2 separate regions of the Homo sapiens genome follow, and region 1 is linked to region 2. Evidence: promoter capture Hi-C in 16 types of primary human blood cells and fetal thymus (Javierre and others, 2016). All regions are on one chromosome and are shown on one strand. Each heading gives the region's core, a stretch centred on a gene start or on the middle of the fragment in contact. The rest is flanking DNA. Distances are from core to core; before and after follow the strand shown. Region 1 overlaps EPHA1-AS1 (EPHA1 antisense RNA 1). Region 2 holds the start of OR9A2 (olfactory receptor family 9 subfamily A member 2).

Evidence for each region. The method cuts DNA at HindIII sites, captures the fragments that hold promoters and counts their contacts. A CHiCAGO score of 5 or more calls a contact.
Region 1: a fragment that was not itself captured here is called in contact with the fragment with the promoter of OR9A2 in region 2 in 1 of 17 cell types (neutrophils); the score reaches 5.1 in neutrophils.

Annotation. Positions count from the first base shown.
Region 1 is chr7:143,486,687-143,492,845 of GRCh38, reverse strand. The region is part of intron 2 of EPHA1-AS1 (EPHA1 antisense RNA 1); the gene reads right to left. It also overlaps the pseudogene OR2R1P. Among named protein-coding and RNA genes, the nearest start is that of TAS2R41, 12 kb to the right of the region's middle. RefSeq lists a silencer at 576-870. The HindIII fragment of the contact is 3,467 bases long and covers 1,400-4,866 here.
Region 2 is chr7:143,024,870-143,031,312 of GRCh38, reverse strand. It overlaps OR9A2 (olfactory receptor family 9 subfamily A member 2), which reads left to right and starts at 4,181. Exons shown (of 1, transcript NM_001001658.1): 1 at 4,181-5,113. The coding sequence starts at 4,181. The coding sequence ends at 5,113. It overlaps LOC105375544 (a long non-coding RNA gene), which reads left to right. Exons shown (of 2, transcript XR_001745395.1): 2 at 1-2,053. The HindIII fragment of the contact is 3,416 bases long and covers 2,384-5,799 here.

The DNA.
Region 1 (6,159 bases), core at 1,884-4,383, 460 kb before region 2:
ACTCTGATGGTAGTTTCTTTTGCAGTGCTTAGGAAGGAGGCTTACGTATCAGAAGGCTACCAGCCTTTCAGCCTTGGCCCAAGTAGTTTTGCCATTTCTACTGGTGTAGTCCTCTTCCCCGTTTCCTTAGTCTCTGGTTTTGAGTCAATTAGTCCCGTTCATTGACACCTCCCCAATCAGCTATGTGTGAGATCTGAATCCTTTGAACCCAAAACCCACTAATTCATATCTCATTGCCTACAGTCCCACTAGCTATGCATGCTTAGAGCAATCAAACACCAAAGGATCTATTTTTCCCTTCTATACTACTTTAAACCACAGATTATGTATATTCACTTATCACAAATCTTTAGAGCTGGAAGAAATCTTAATGTACCTAATCTAACTTGCTCATTCTGTAGATGAAGAAACTGTGGCTTTAAAATGTAGCAATGTACCCAATGGATACGTAGATGGTTTCCTGATACAGCTTGAAGCCCAGGCCTCCTTATATGAATCTTAGCATACCTTAAACCTCATCTACTTTTTTAAGAGGCAAGAGCACTATTTCTTGTTTTTGTTTTGTTTTGTTTTTTGTTTCTACTTTATTATTTCTACAGATCTGCTGAGCTGATTACATAGCCAGACTCTATGTCTCCTCTTACCAGATGTCTTCATCAAGCTTCCTCTGAAAACTCCCCTGATAAGGTCATGATGACTCACTCTTTCTATTCTCCCTGCAGGCTGAGTTCCTAAGCAGGAGACCAGACTGATTGATTTGTTATCCCAATACCTTCCACTGGACCAGGCGCTGAACAGTGCTCAGTACATGTTTACCAAGGTGAGAAAAGTGGAATAAAATTCTCTGTCCCAAAAAGCTAAGAACGAGGCCATCTATCAATAAAAATAGTTTTTCATCATCTAAAAACATCACCAAAATGTATTGGAATAAAATAGTACTAAGTTCACACTGTGTGCAGAGCATGTACTACCTACTCACTGAGTACAGGTGAACCCTCTACTTTGATTCTTCACTATATTTAACAGGGTCTCTGTAATTAGGTGGTTTAAGCAATATAATGCATTTCAAGGGGCTTTATGACCCACATTCTGAAAACTTTCTGACGTTTATAGCACATATTCTATTGTTTCTTGTCCCCATGGCACTGGGTAGACTTTACCTCTGTAATTTGGACTTGTTGAGCATAGTAACAGCCACTTACGTTTACTTATACTTTACAAAGCACATTCATATTCATTTGTTCATCTGATCTTACTTAAAATGTTGTGAGATAAGCATTATTATTATTCATGCATTTCAAATGAAGAAACTGAGGCTCATAGAGGTCTAGTAAGTTGCACATAGCAGACTAATGGAAGAGGCAAACTCAAACTCAGACCCCTTGACTTATTTAAAGCTTTACCCCCACACCACATGTCTTTCTCTTCAAGGATAGATGGCTGTCCTGAGCTTCCCATCTGAGGTTCCTCAGGTGCCTCCCTTCCTAGACTACAGCTTTTCAGAACTCCTTCCCACCCTTCACTCATGGGCTTGGGTAGAGCTAGATGTGCAGGGCAGCCCTGACCCTTGTTCCAGCTTAGTCTCCAGGTAGATCTGAGACCTGGGCAAATCACCGTAGCCCTATTCCTTGGTTTCCTTGTTTATAAAATGAAAGGAATGAAACACTTAGCCCCTATATTTCTTTTCATTTTAAACAGTTGTGGTTACCTTCTGGAGGGTATCTCAATCCTTGAGGCCAACTCTGAAGGTGAAGATTCTGTCTATAGTAACAAGCAGCATACTGATCATAGTAGATCAGCATTGATCTACTTCTGCTGATACAAGGGAACCATCTCCCTAGGGCAGCAGTCAAAATTCCAGCCCCTGGCTCTGACCCTAGAACCTGATCTCCAACCTTGAGAACCCAAGGCCAGTTTCTATTCTTAGCAGTTTCTACAGTGACACCTTCTGGCCACTGCAGGACCAGGGCTGAATGGAGACAAGATGCCAGCTCCATCCAGGTCCTCTCTGCTCTCTCCCTCCACCAATGTTTCCAGCCAGAAGAAACATAAATTGAATTATGCATTTCAGCTTTCTTGCATTTTATTCTGTGGTTCTGCTCTCATTTTCTTAATGCAGATGTATGGCATTTGTCCTCTGGCTGTAGTGGCTTGCACAAACATGCTCTCATTAGATTCTCAGATTTGACCAAAATCCATTTTTAAAAATTTATTATTTGATCCTCTGGCACTGCTGATTTTCTAAACACAAATCCCTAACATTGAAAGGTGGAATTTCCTAGAGGTTGGTTGAAAGCATAGTGCCTGATATACTCAATAATGTTTTAATAAATGAATCAGTTTGTTAATTAAATTTTTTAAGAGCAGGAAATACATCTGGAGATTATATTTATATTAAGAAAAAGTGATGGCACTTAATTTTATTTTTCAAGAGGACCAGTCAGCATGGTAGAAGGGAGATGAACTGGTACAACCTTGGCTGACAAGGGAGAATTCACTCTGTTTGAAAAGATTCTGTGGGTTTCTATCACCTCATACTCAGTAGTAATACATGAGTATCATTGGTTTTCGAACGCTTGCATCACAACATTACTTTGTTAATCATTTGTTTAAACATCTAAATAAATGCCTGAAACTCACTATATAAATTGCATGTTATTAAGGAGTAAGGCATAACTACTGTCATAATTTAATTACAAAGCTCCAAATTTAATTAGCCAAATACTAACCTTGTTCTTCTCCTTCATAGCACTTAGCACAATTATACTTAATTAATTATTTGTAATTATTGATGTAATCTCTGTGTCCCTAGATAAATTATAAGAATCAAGAAAGCAAGGGCCCGTGTTTCTATCTTTCTTACTTACCAGCAGGTAACCAATGCCTGGCACAGACCCTGGCACACCAGCAGGGGATTAGTAGATATTGGTTTCAAGGACTTCAGCTTTATCTGGACTTGTGGGAGAAATGAAAAGGATGTGAGAGGATTCCTGTCTGGACTTAGTGGACCCTAGAAGAAGCAGGAAGAGCAGCTCAATCCAGAGTTAAGAAATGAGCTGAGAAATCCTAGGACATGCCTACAGTTCTCAAGTGTCTGATTACAATACTTTACCCACTGCTTCCCCACAGTGAAGAATCCTTCCTTTCTTTCATATCTTCCACATTCCTTCCCTCCTTTTCCATTTTCCTATTGTCTTTCCTTAGTTTTTCTTTGCTTCTTTCATCCTTTCTTCTCTATCATTCCTTCTACATTGATAGATTACCTCCTACACAACTGTAACTGTGATCGGTCCTCGACGTGAAAGGATGGCCAAAACAGGGACTTTGTCCTTCAGAACCTCTCAGAATTTGGTTTAGTGTCAGAAACCAAATGTCCTTTTCTCCAAGACCTTTGCATTCCCTCCTAACCACCTAGATTGAAGAAGTGAGGTTCAATGTCCCAACTGGGAAGGGACAACATAACCTGGGTGAGTGAGTTCATCCTAATGGGTCTCTCCAGTGACAGGCAGACCCAGGCTGGACTCTTTATCTTATTTGGGGCTGCCTACCTGCTGACCCTGCTGGGCAATGGGCTCATCCTGCTCCTGATCTGGCTGGACGTGAGACTCCACCTGCCCATGTATTTCTTCCTCTGCAACCTCTCACTTGTGGACATCTGCTACACCTCCAGCAGGGTCCCTCAGATGCTGGTGCACTGCACCAGCAAAGAAAGACCATCTCCTTTGCCCGATGTGGGACCCAGCTCTTTTTCTCCCTGGCCCTCGGAGGGACCGAGTTTTTGTTGCTGGCCGCAATGGCCTATGACCGCTACGTGGCTGTTTGCGACCCCCTGTGTTACATAGCAGTGATGAGCCCAAGGCTCTGCATGGCACTGGCAGCTGTCTCTTGGCTAGTGGGCCTGGCTAATTCTGCTATGGAGACGGCACTGACCATGCACCTGCCCACCTGTGGGCACAACGTGCTGAACCATGTGGCCTGTGAGACACTGGCACTGGTCAGGTCGGCCTGCGTGGACATCACCTTCAATCAGGTGGTCATAGTGGCCTCCAGTGTGGTGGTGCTGCTGGTGCCCTGCTGCCTGGTCTCGCTGTCCTACACCCTCATTGTAGTTGCCGTCCTGCAGATCCACTCCACCCAGGGGCACCGCAAGGCCTTTGGGACCTGTGCCTCCCACCTCACTGTGGTCTCCATATCCTATGGGATGGCCCTCTTTACCTACATGCAGCCTCGCTCCATGGCCTCAGCTGAGCAGGAAAAGGTGATGGTACTCTCTTATGCTGTGGTGACCCCCATGTTGAATCCTTTCATCTACAGTCTGCGGAACAAGGATGTGAAGGCAGCTCTGAGTCGAGCTCTGATGAGGAGCTCTGAATTAAAACATTAGAGAGTGGTTTGAGTAACAAGAAGGCCTCACTCTGAAAACAGTGGGCATTGGACTGTGCTCTCCAGTATAACGTGTGTACGCATGTGTGTGTATGTGTGTGCATCTGTGTGTGTGTGCATGTGTATGTGTGTGTGTAAGGGAACAGGTGGGAGGACCACAATTTGTACTACTCTCTTTTGAGGTAATAGAAAAATGGATTTTATCCGGACTTTATCTTTGGCCCATGCCTTATTCCCAATGTGAATTACAACAACTTAAAAATACATGCACCCTACAGAAAGTGAAATGAAATATATTCATTTTCTTAAATGAAAGAAAGGGGGAGGGAGGAGAAAAGATATACCAGTGTATATGAATTAGGAAGAAAGATTAAATTAGAAGTCAGGGCAGTGCACAAAATGTATTCCAAGAAAGTCTATTTCTTGGTAAAAATATTTAAATATATGTTTCTGTAGTAAGTGAGAAAAGGAGGGAAAAAAGCTTTAAGTTACAAAATTCGCTGTGCCCATAGGATCAAACAGGCCTTAGGTAAGAGGTGCAAAGGCCACCCTAGTAACTCACACATGGTCCAGCCCAGCTCACTAGGGTGGGGGATTCACCCATGGGTTTGGAGCCAAAGTCACAGTAATGATCTCTCAGCTCTGATGAGTGTGACTGGGCTGTGTGCCAGTCACATGAGCGTCCCTCTGCTTGTTTCCCTTTCAAATTTGCAGTGGTGGCAAATTGCTGGCCAGAAAGTCAGATATGCGGGACCTCAAACAAACATCTTGTATGCAATCAGGTCTAAGAATATCCTCTTGTGAACATTGAGGGCTGTGCTCAGAGCTCATCCTGACTGGGAGACCATGCTATGCACGATTAGAGTGAGCCATGGGATTCAGCAAAGAAAGAATCCGGCTTCCTCATTGGGGATAGTTTTGTTCCACTCTTTTAATACACAAATTTTTGAGCTCTAAAATCCTAGATCATAAAGCAAAGCCATGATGATTTTATTCTGAAAAATGTTTAAAATAATCTTTTAAAAATCAGACTAAAACATCTCCTTAACTAAATATTATGAATCTCTGGTTTGTCTTGACCACAAAAGAAAACAAACAAACCAAAACAAGCAAAGAAACAACAACAACGAAAAAACATAAACTGAAAACAGTTCAAACTTTTACTCAATCTGTTGCAACAAAGCTAAAGGGCTGAAAAACAGGAAATGAAGAGCACCCTTTAAAACTGCTATTAAAACTTTTTAATTGAGGTAAGGCTCACATATCACATGATTCACAGTTTTTGCCATTTTAAAGCAGATAATTCATTGACATCTAGTCAATGAATCCACAGTGTTGTGCAACCTCATCTCTATCTGCCCCAAAACACGTTCAACACCCCAAAAGGATACCCCACACTCAGTAAGCAGTCCTGACCACCACTAACCTGGTTTCTGTCTCTATGGATTTGCCAGTTTGGGACATTTCATATAAAGGGAATCATGCAGTATGTGGCCTTTTGTGTCTAACTTCTCACTTAGCATAATGTTTTTAAGGTCTTTCCATATTGTAGTATGTAGTAGTGCTTCGCTTCTTTTTATAGTTGAATAATATTCCATTGTGTGGATATAACACATTTGTTTATTCGATCATCAGATAGCGGACATTTGAATTGTTTCTACCTTTTTGCTATTGTGAATAGTGCTACTATGAACATTCATGTACAAATTTTTGTTTGAATACCTGTTTTCAATTCTTTTGAATATTTACCCAGGAGTGGAAGCACTGGGTCATATG
Region 2 (6,443 bases), core at 2,932-5,431:
TGAGATCAACTGTTTTAGTTTCCACATATGAGTGAGAACATGTGGTATTTGTCTTTATGTGCCTGGCTTATTTCACTTAATGGAATGCCCTCCAGTTTTCTCCATTTTGCCACAAATGACAAGATTTCATTCCTTTTAATGGCTGAATTCTATTCCATTGTATATATACACCACATTTTCTGTGTTCACTCATCCATTGATGGATACTCAAGTTGATTCTATATCCATATTTGTTTTTGAGTTGGTTTTGGTCATTTTTATCTTTCAAAAATTTTCCATTTCATCAGGCTTGTTAATTGATTTCCCTTTTAAGGTGTCTTGTTTTTATTCTCTTCAACTTAAAATTAAAATTTTAATTATGCCTTTGGCTTATAACAGGTCAGGAAAACAAGACCCCTTCTATTACACAGTCTTAGTAATTGTGTGAATCAATACAAAATGTTTGGAGTGTAATTTGGTGCCAATAAAAAGTAATAGCTTCAATACATCTGCATTTGACCCAGACATTCCAACTCTAGGGAATCTTTTTTTTCTTTTTCAGAAATATAATTGTTTATGTACTTACATGTATACGTACTTACTTTACTTACAAGTACATGTTTATGTACTTACAAATATCTAAGAATATTTATAGCATCATTTTTTCATAATTAAAAATGGAAACAACAATGAAAATTAATTAATAAATGTCTATCTAATAAAGAATAGGACATCCACATAATGGAATCCTATGTTAAAAAAAAAAGAGGTAGAGTAATATGTGCTGACATGGAAAGATATATTTTATATGTTGTTAAATGAGAAAGAAAAGGTTGCAAACAGATTTTCACAGCCTTTACGAAAAAGAATATGGAGATACATGCTTGGAAAATTTCTCTAAAATTATATGGCAAGTATTTGGGCTTGGGCAATTTAAGGAATTGGAAGAAAGATTAATCCCAATTTATACCCTTAGGCACCAATTGAAATTCTCAGATTTAACAGGTGTACTTAAAATACTTAAAATGAAAACAAAAATGCAGACAAATGTTTTGTAATTCCTACTTTTTCTGTCTTACTCCAGCATTAGACAGATTTCCAACTTACATTTTGTCAGTTCCTCCAGGTTGCAAACAGAACTGTGTACATAAGCTGTCCTTATGCTCTCTCTACTTTGCAGTGGTCCAGCTGGTAATCAGGGACATGCCATAGGAAAAAAAAAAGTCTGGAAGAATCTTGCTGGAATGCATACAGATGCACATATATCAAGAGGAGTGAAAACCTGAGACAATAGAACAGAATAGAGTTCGATTTAGGGGAGGGACCTCTTACAGTATTCTGTAGGGTCCACAGGACTAAACGCAGGAGCCTTTTTAAAATGAATGAAGGAGTCATCAGGCTTTTTAGAAGATATTTGGTGAAGTTAAGGCTTTGACCAAGACCAATATGCAGACTTTTTTGGGATATTGGTGCATGTTTTAGAGGCCAATTGTGGTGTCTCCTACTGGGGGAAAAGGGTTGATTTAGGCTCCGAATAACTAGAGAAACTTGAGAAAAGCCTAAGATAAACGACAGAGGTAGTTGACTGTTTAGAATCTGAGACATCTGGAAACCTAGACCTGAGGTTTTCAGGAAGGCAGCCCCAGTATTAAGAAGTCCCTGATTGGTAAGATTTCAGGTTTTCCCGTCAAACAAAAACTTTCAAAAGTTCTAAAACTTAATTGGTCAAAAAATGGGAATAACTTAAAGTTTGTTCTGCTCCCACTAGACTGATTGCCTGGGGACTCCCTGAACGTGGGCTAATTAAGAAGTAGTAACTCGGTGATTAAGTACCCTTGGGAAGAAGGGAAGAGGGAGGAGAGGGGAGAGAGAGAGGACCCTCAACTTTGCCCAACACTCATTTCTGGGCTTTTTCCTAAGCTCCTCTGGGAGGACATTTCCCTTCTTCGCCATGAGTGGGGATTGCAGCAACTTGTTCTGGCCCCTGTGCATGGCTCAGCACTAGCAGGACAGGAGGTAGCCTCAGCGGAGCCCTAGAGAACATCAGAAGAGGCGGCGAAGCCCCTCTGTAAAGGTGAGTGTCTTTCCAAGGGGTCTCCTCTATGAAGAAGAGGGTAAAAGCATTTTAGGATGGGACATCCTGGGCCTGCCTATCTTCTAGAACAAAGTCACCCAGATATTGAAGTGTGGGCTAGGGGAGCAGTAGAGTGTATAGGCTCATCTCCAGACCCTTCCTGCATAGCAGAGAGCACTTCCGGCTCCTCTTGGACCCAATGCTAACACAGTCACGGCTCCCTGACAGTCGGTGTCCTTCTCGCTCATGTTTCTTCATCTCGTGCTGGTTATGCAGAGGTTGTGGAAAACCAGAACACTGAGCTTTCCCATCAATTCTGTCCCTGAAGCTTTTTAAACCATTAGTAAAACAGTGACGTAGACAGGGAAGGGGTTACCTAAGCAAGGGAAGGGCAGGAGGGAAAATGGTAATGTGAGGCAGGAAGGAAAACCAACCAGAATAGGATTGAGGGAATGTGGCCCAGGCCCTGGCCAGAACAAGTATTATTTAATCATATATTATCCATCCATCCATCCATACCTCATCTAGCAAAATTTGTCAGCACTACTTATTTTATGTATATGATACATATATCTTATGTATTTAAATATCTTATAAATAAAAAATATATGTATATTTTATATAATATAAGATATATTTCATATATCTTATTTCATATATCTTATATAAATAAGATAAATAATATAAGATAATAATATAATATAAGGTGTGGTAGTTAGCTGTGTGAGTGATGAAATCTGACAGACCTAGGTTCAAATCTTGACTCACACAGCTATTAGTTCGGTTACCTTGTGATAAATTAATACATAATTTAATATATAAGATATATCTATGATATATTCATTTCACATAATGTATCTGTCTATATCTATATAAAAGATATATGATATATATATATAAAATATATAACTACTTAATTTATGTATGTACATTTTATGTGCCAGCCTCAGAATACAACAGTGAAGACATGTCCTAGCCCTCATGGAGTTTATATTCTAATGCCGTTGATAAATAATAAATACACTTAAATTTCCTCTCCTTCTTTCTTGCTTATTTTTTTCCCTGTGACATGATAAGCAAACTAAACTATTGCATATTTTACTTAGGTGTCTTGTGTGTGGTCTAGCCCCCACCTCTTCCTTGAATATAAGCTCCACAGGGCATGGAATTTTCTTTGTTCTGTTCATGACTACATTTGTTTATTGTTAAATAAAGGAATGAAGTAAATAATTAGACATAATACAAGGTAATAACAACTGTTATTAAAAAAATGGAAGTCCAATAATAAGTGTGTCTTTTCTGTTTTGGGCAGAGTGATTGGAAAGAGTCTTTGGAAAGGGTGACATTTGAATAATGGAATGAAGCGACAGGCAGAGAGCCAGGCATCCTTAACAGCTGGCGGTCCCAGATCTATTCCTTTTCTGTGCCAGGTGCCATCTTTCCTTCCTCCCACAACTTTGGAAGGAAAATGGAATTAGAGAAGAATGGATCTGTTCTGGGAAATTATCCCAAGCTCTAGAGTTCTCATTTAGAGATCTTGCTGTTCTGTAAAATGGAGATTTTAAAATCTGGAACAGCAGAGATGTTAGTCTTACATCCTCTGCCTCCTTTCTGCTGGCCCCAAAGGTGGGTCTATGCATTACCATTACAGATGAGAGCTGGGGTTTAAAATTCTGTCCTTTGAACATCATATAAAATGCCTTTGTGTCATCTTGCACAGTTAACCTAAGAGAAAGTAACTCCAGGACCGGAGGGACCTGATTGACTCACCTTTAAAACTGGCCTATTTAAAAGGTCTTAGCCTCTGCCCCCGAGAGAAGGTATATTTAATGGGGAAAAAGGCAAGGAAGGTATTTCACCACCAGTAGAAGAAGATGTCTTCACCCATTCTAGGGGGCTGGTTACACAGGGAAGTGAGAGCCTCACTTGTAGACTTGGGATGACAACATGTACCTCAAGCTATGTATGTGCCGACCACAGTAGCAGGGACATGTCACCTGATTCTCAGGTTGGAAATAGTTTCTTAACCTAATTTTTCTTCCTTCTCTCTTGAGAGCAGGACCATGTGGAGCAATGCCACCTCTCTTTTAATCTCTGGGCTTCAAAACAAGCAGAATCAAGGACTAAATGATGGACAACCACTCTAGTGCCACTGAATTCCACCTTCTAGGCTTCCCTGGGTCCCAAGGACTACACCACATTCTTTTTGCTATATTCTTTTTCTTCTATTTAGTGACATTAATGGGAAACACGGTCATCATTGTGATTGTCTGTGTGGATAAACGTCTGCAGTCCCCCATGTATTTCTTCCTCAGCCACCTCTCTACCCTGGAGATCCTGGTCACAACCATAATTGTCCCCATGATGCTTTGGGGATTGCTCTTCCTGGGATGCAGACAGTATCTTTCTCTACATGTATCGCTCAACTTTTCCTGTGGGACCATGGAGTTTGCATTACTTGGAGTGATGGCTGTGGACCGTTATGTGGCTGTGTGTAACCCTTTGAGGTACAACATCATTATGAACAGCAGTACCTGTATTTGGGTGGTAATAGTGTCATGGGTGTTTGGATTTCTTTCTGAAATCTGGCCCATCTATGCCACATTTCAGTTTACCTTCCGCAAATCAAATTCATTAGACCATTTTTACTGTGACCGAGGGCAATTGCTCAAACTGTCCTGCGATAACACTCTTCTCACAGAGTTTATCCTTTTCTTAATGGCTGTTTTTATTCTCATTGGTTCTTTGATCCCTACGATTGTCTCCTACACCTACATTATCTCCACCATCCTCAAGATCCCGTCAGCCTCTGGCCGGAGGAAAGCCTTCTCCACTTTTGCCTCCCACTTCACCTGTGTTGTGATTGGCTATGGCAGCTGCTTGTTTCTCTACGTGAAACCCAAGCAAACACAGGGAGTTGAGTACAATAAGATAGTTTCCCTGTTGGTTTCTGTGTTAACCCCCTTCCTGAATCCTTTCATCTTTACTCTTCGGAATGACAAAGTCAAAGAGGCCCTCCGAGATGGGATGAAACGCTGCTGTCAACTCCTGAAAGATTAGCTGTTCTGTAAGTCAGTTTTAGGTGGTCCAAGCCTCAGGGTTAATTATTAAGTCACCTAGAAAATTCTAACTCCTCTTTTCTCTTATCCTCTCATTACAAAAGTCAAAGAGTGTGTACAATTCGCCATCACACCATGGAAGTAGATTAGGCTGGTAATAATGAAATCCATTGTCTGTCCAGGAGACTCTCATAGCCTTAGTTCCTGCCTGTTTCCACTGTTGAACATATTCTTGTGATTTGGGGGGGACTAGAGAAAGGAAATGCAGACATTTTTGTAAGAATTCTATTAGCCCAACTCATTTCCTCATAGTCCATCTCTGAAAATGTATTTTCTGGGGAAGGGAGGAAGTGTGGAGGGAGGTGTACTGAGAAAGGTGTCCTAATCAGAGTAGAAAGGTAGAGATGCTCACTTTGGTCCTTCATCACCTGTTGCTAAGTTCTTCCCTATATTTTTGTGCAATTTTTTGGCAAGATGGCCATATGCATTTTAGATATCCTAAAGCTCTTTCTCTCTGCCCCATTGATACTGGAAAGGAAGTGTAACACTGTTTACGTTTTGTCACAGAACCAGTCTAGAATGGCGATATGAGGATTGGAATGCTTCTCATTCAGGAGATATTTGTGGTGTAAAGAAGATAAAAATATTTGAGGATAAAAATGGAGGAAAATTTATTTTTGTTAAGCTTCAGCATATTCCTTTCACTGCCCTTCTTTGTGGTGAGTATAGGGACAGGGGCAAATAAGAACTAAATGACTAATTCTAGAGAGCATCCTGTATTTTATGGCTGTTAAACACAACTATGTCTGTTCAGACTGTATCCAGATCTAGACTTCAAACTTTATAATGTCTTTTGATTCTCCGTCTCTCAAATCCAACAGTCTCAGTACCATCATGTGTATCTTCTCTGTGGGCAGAATTTTTTAAAAATAAGAGGCCATTCTTTTGACTCCCGGCTTTCTAGAAATTATAGGGATTGGCTGTTTGGTAGTGTAACTGTTGGAATTTCACATAATATTGGAAGAAGTCCTTATAAGGAAGAAGTTTACCTAAACAACAACAATCAGCAGATTCTACCAGCCCTAAAGTAAGTGAGAAAATTGAGCTGTTCAGCAGTGGGATGATGAGGCTACTGAGAATTTTGAAGAGTACTGTGTGAGGATGCCAGGTTGTCTTGTCCTGTGAGGAGTGATAACCGTCATGTATGTTTGGGTAGTTTGCATTGCATTAAAGTACCAGACAAGGTGGGGAATGAGCTTTAAATTCAGCCAGCCCATGCTCTGCAAGCCAACCAATGGACTCTGGTGGCACTGCATTGGCTGGAGAAAGGG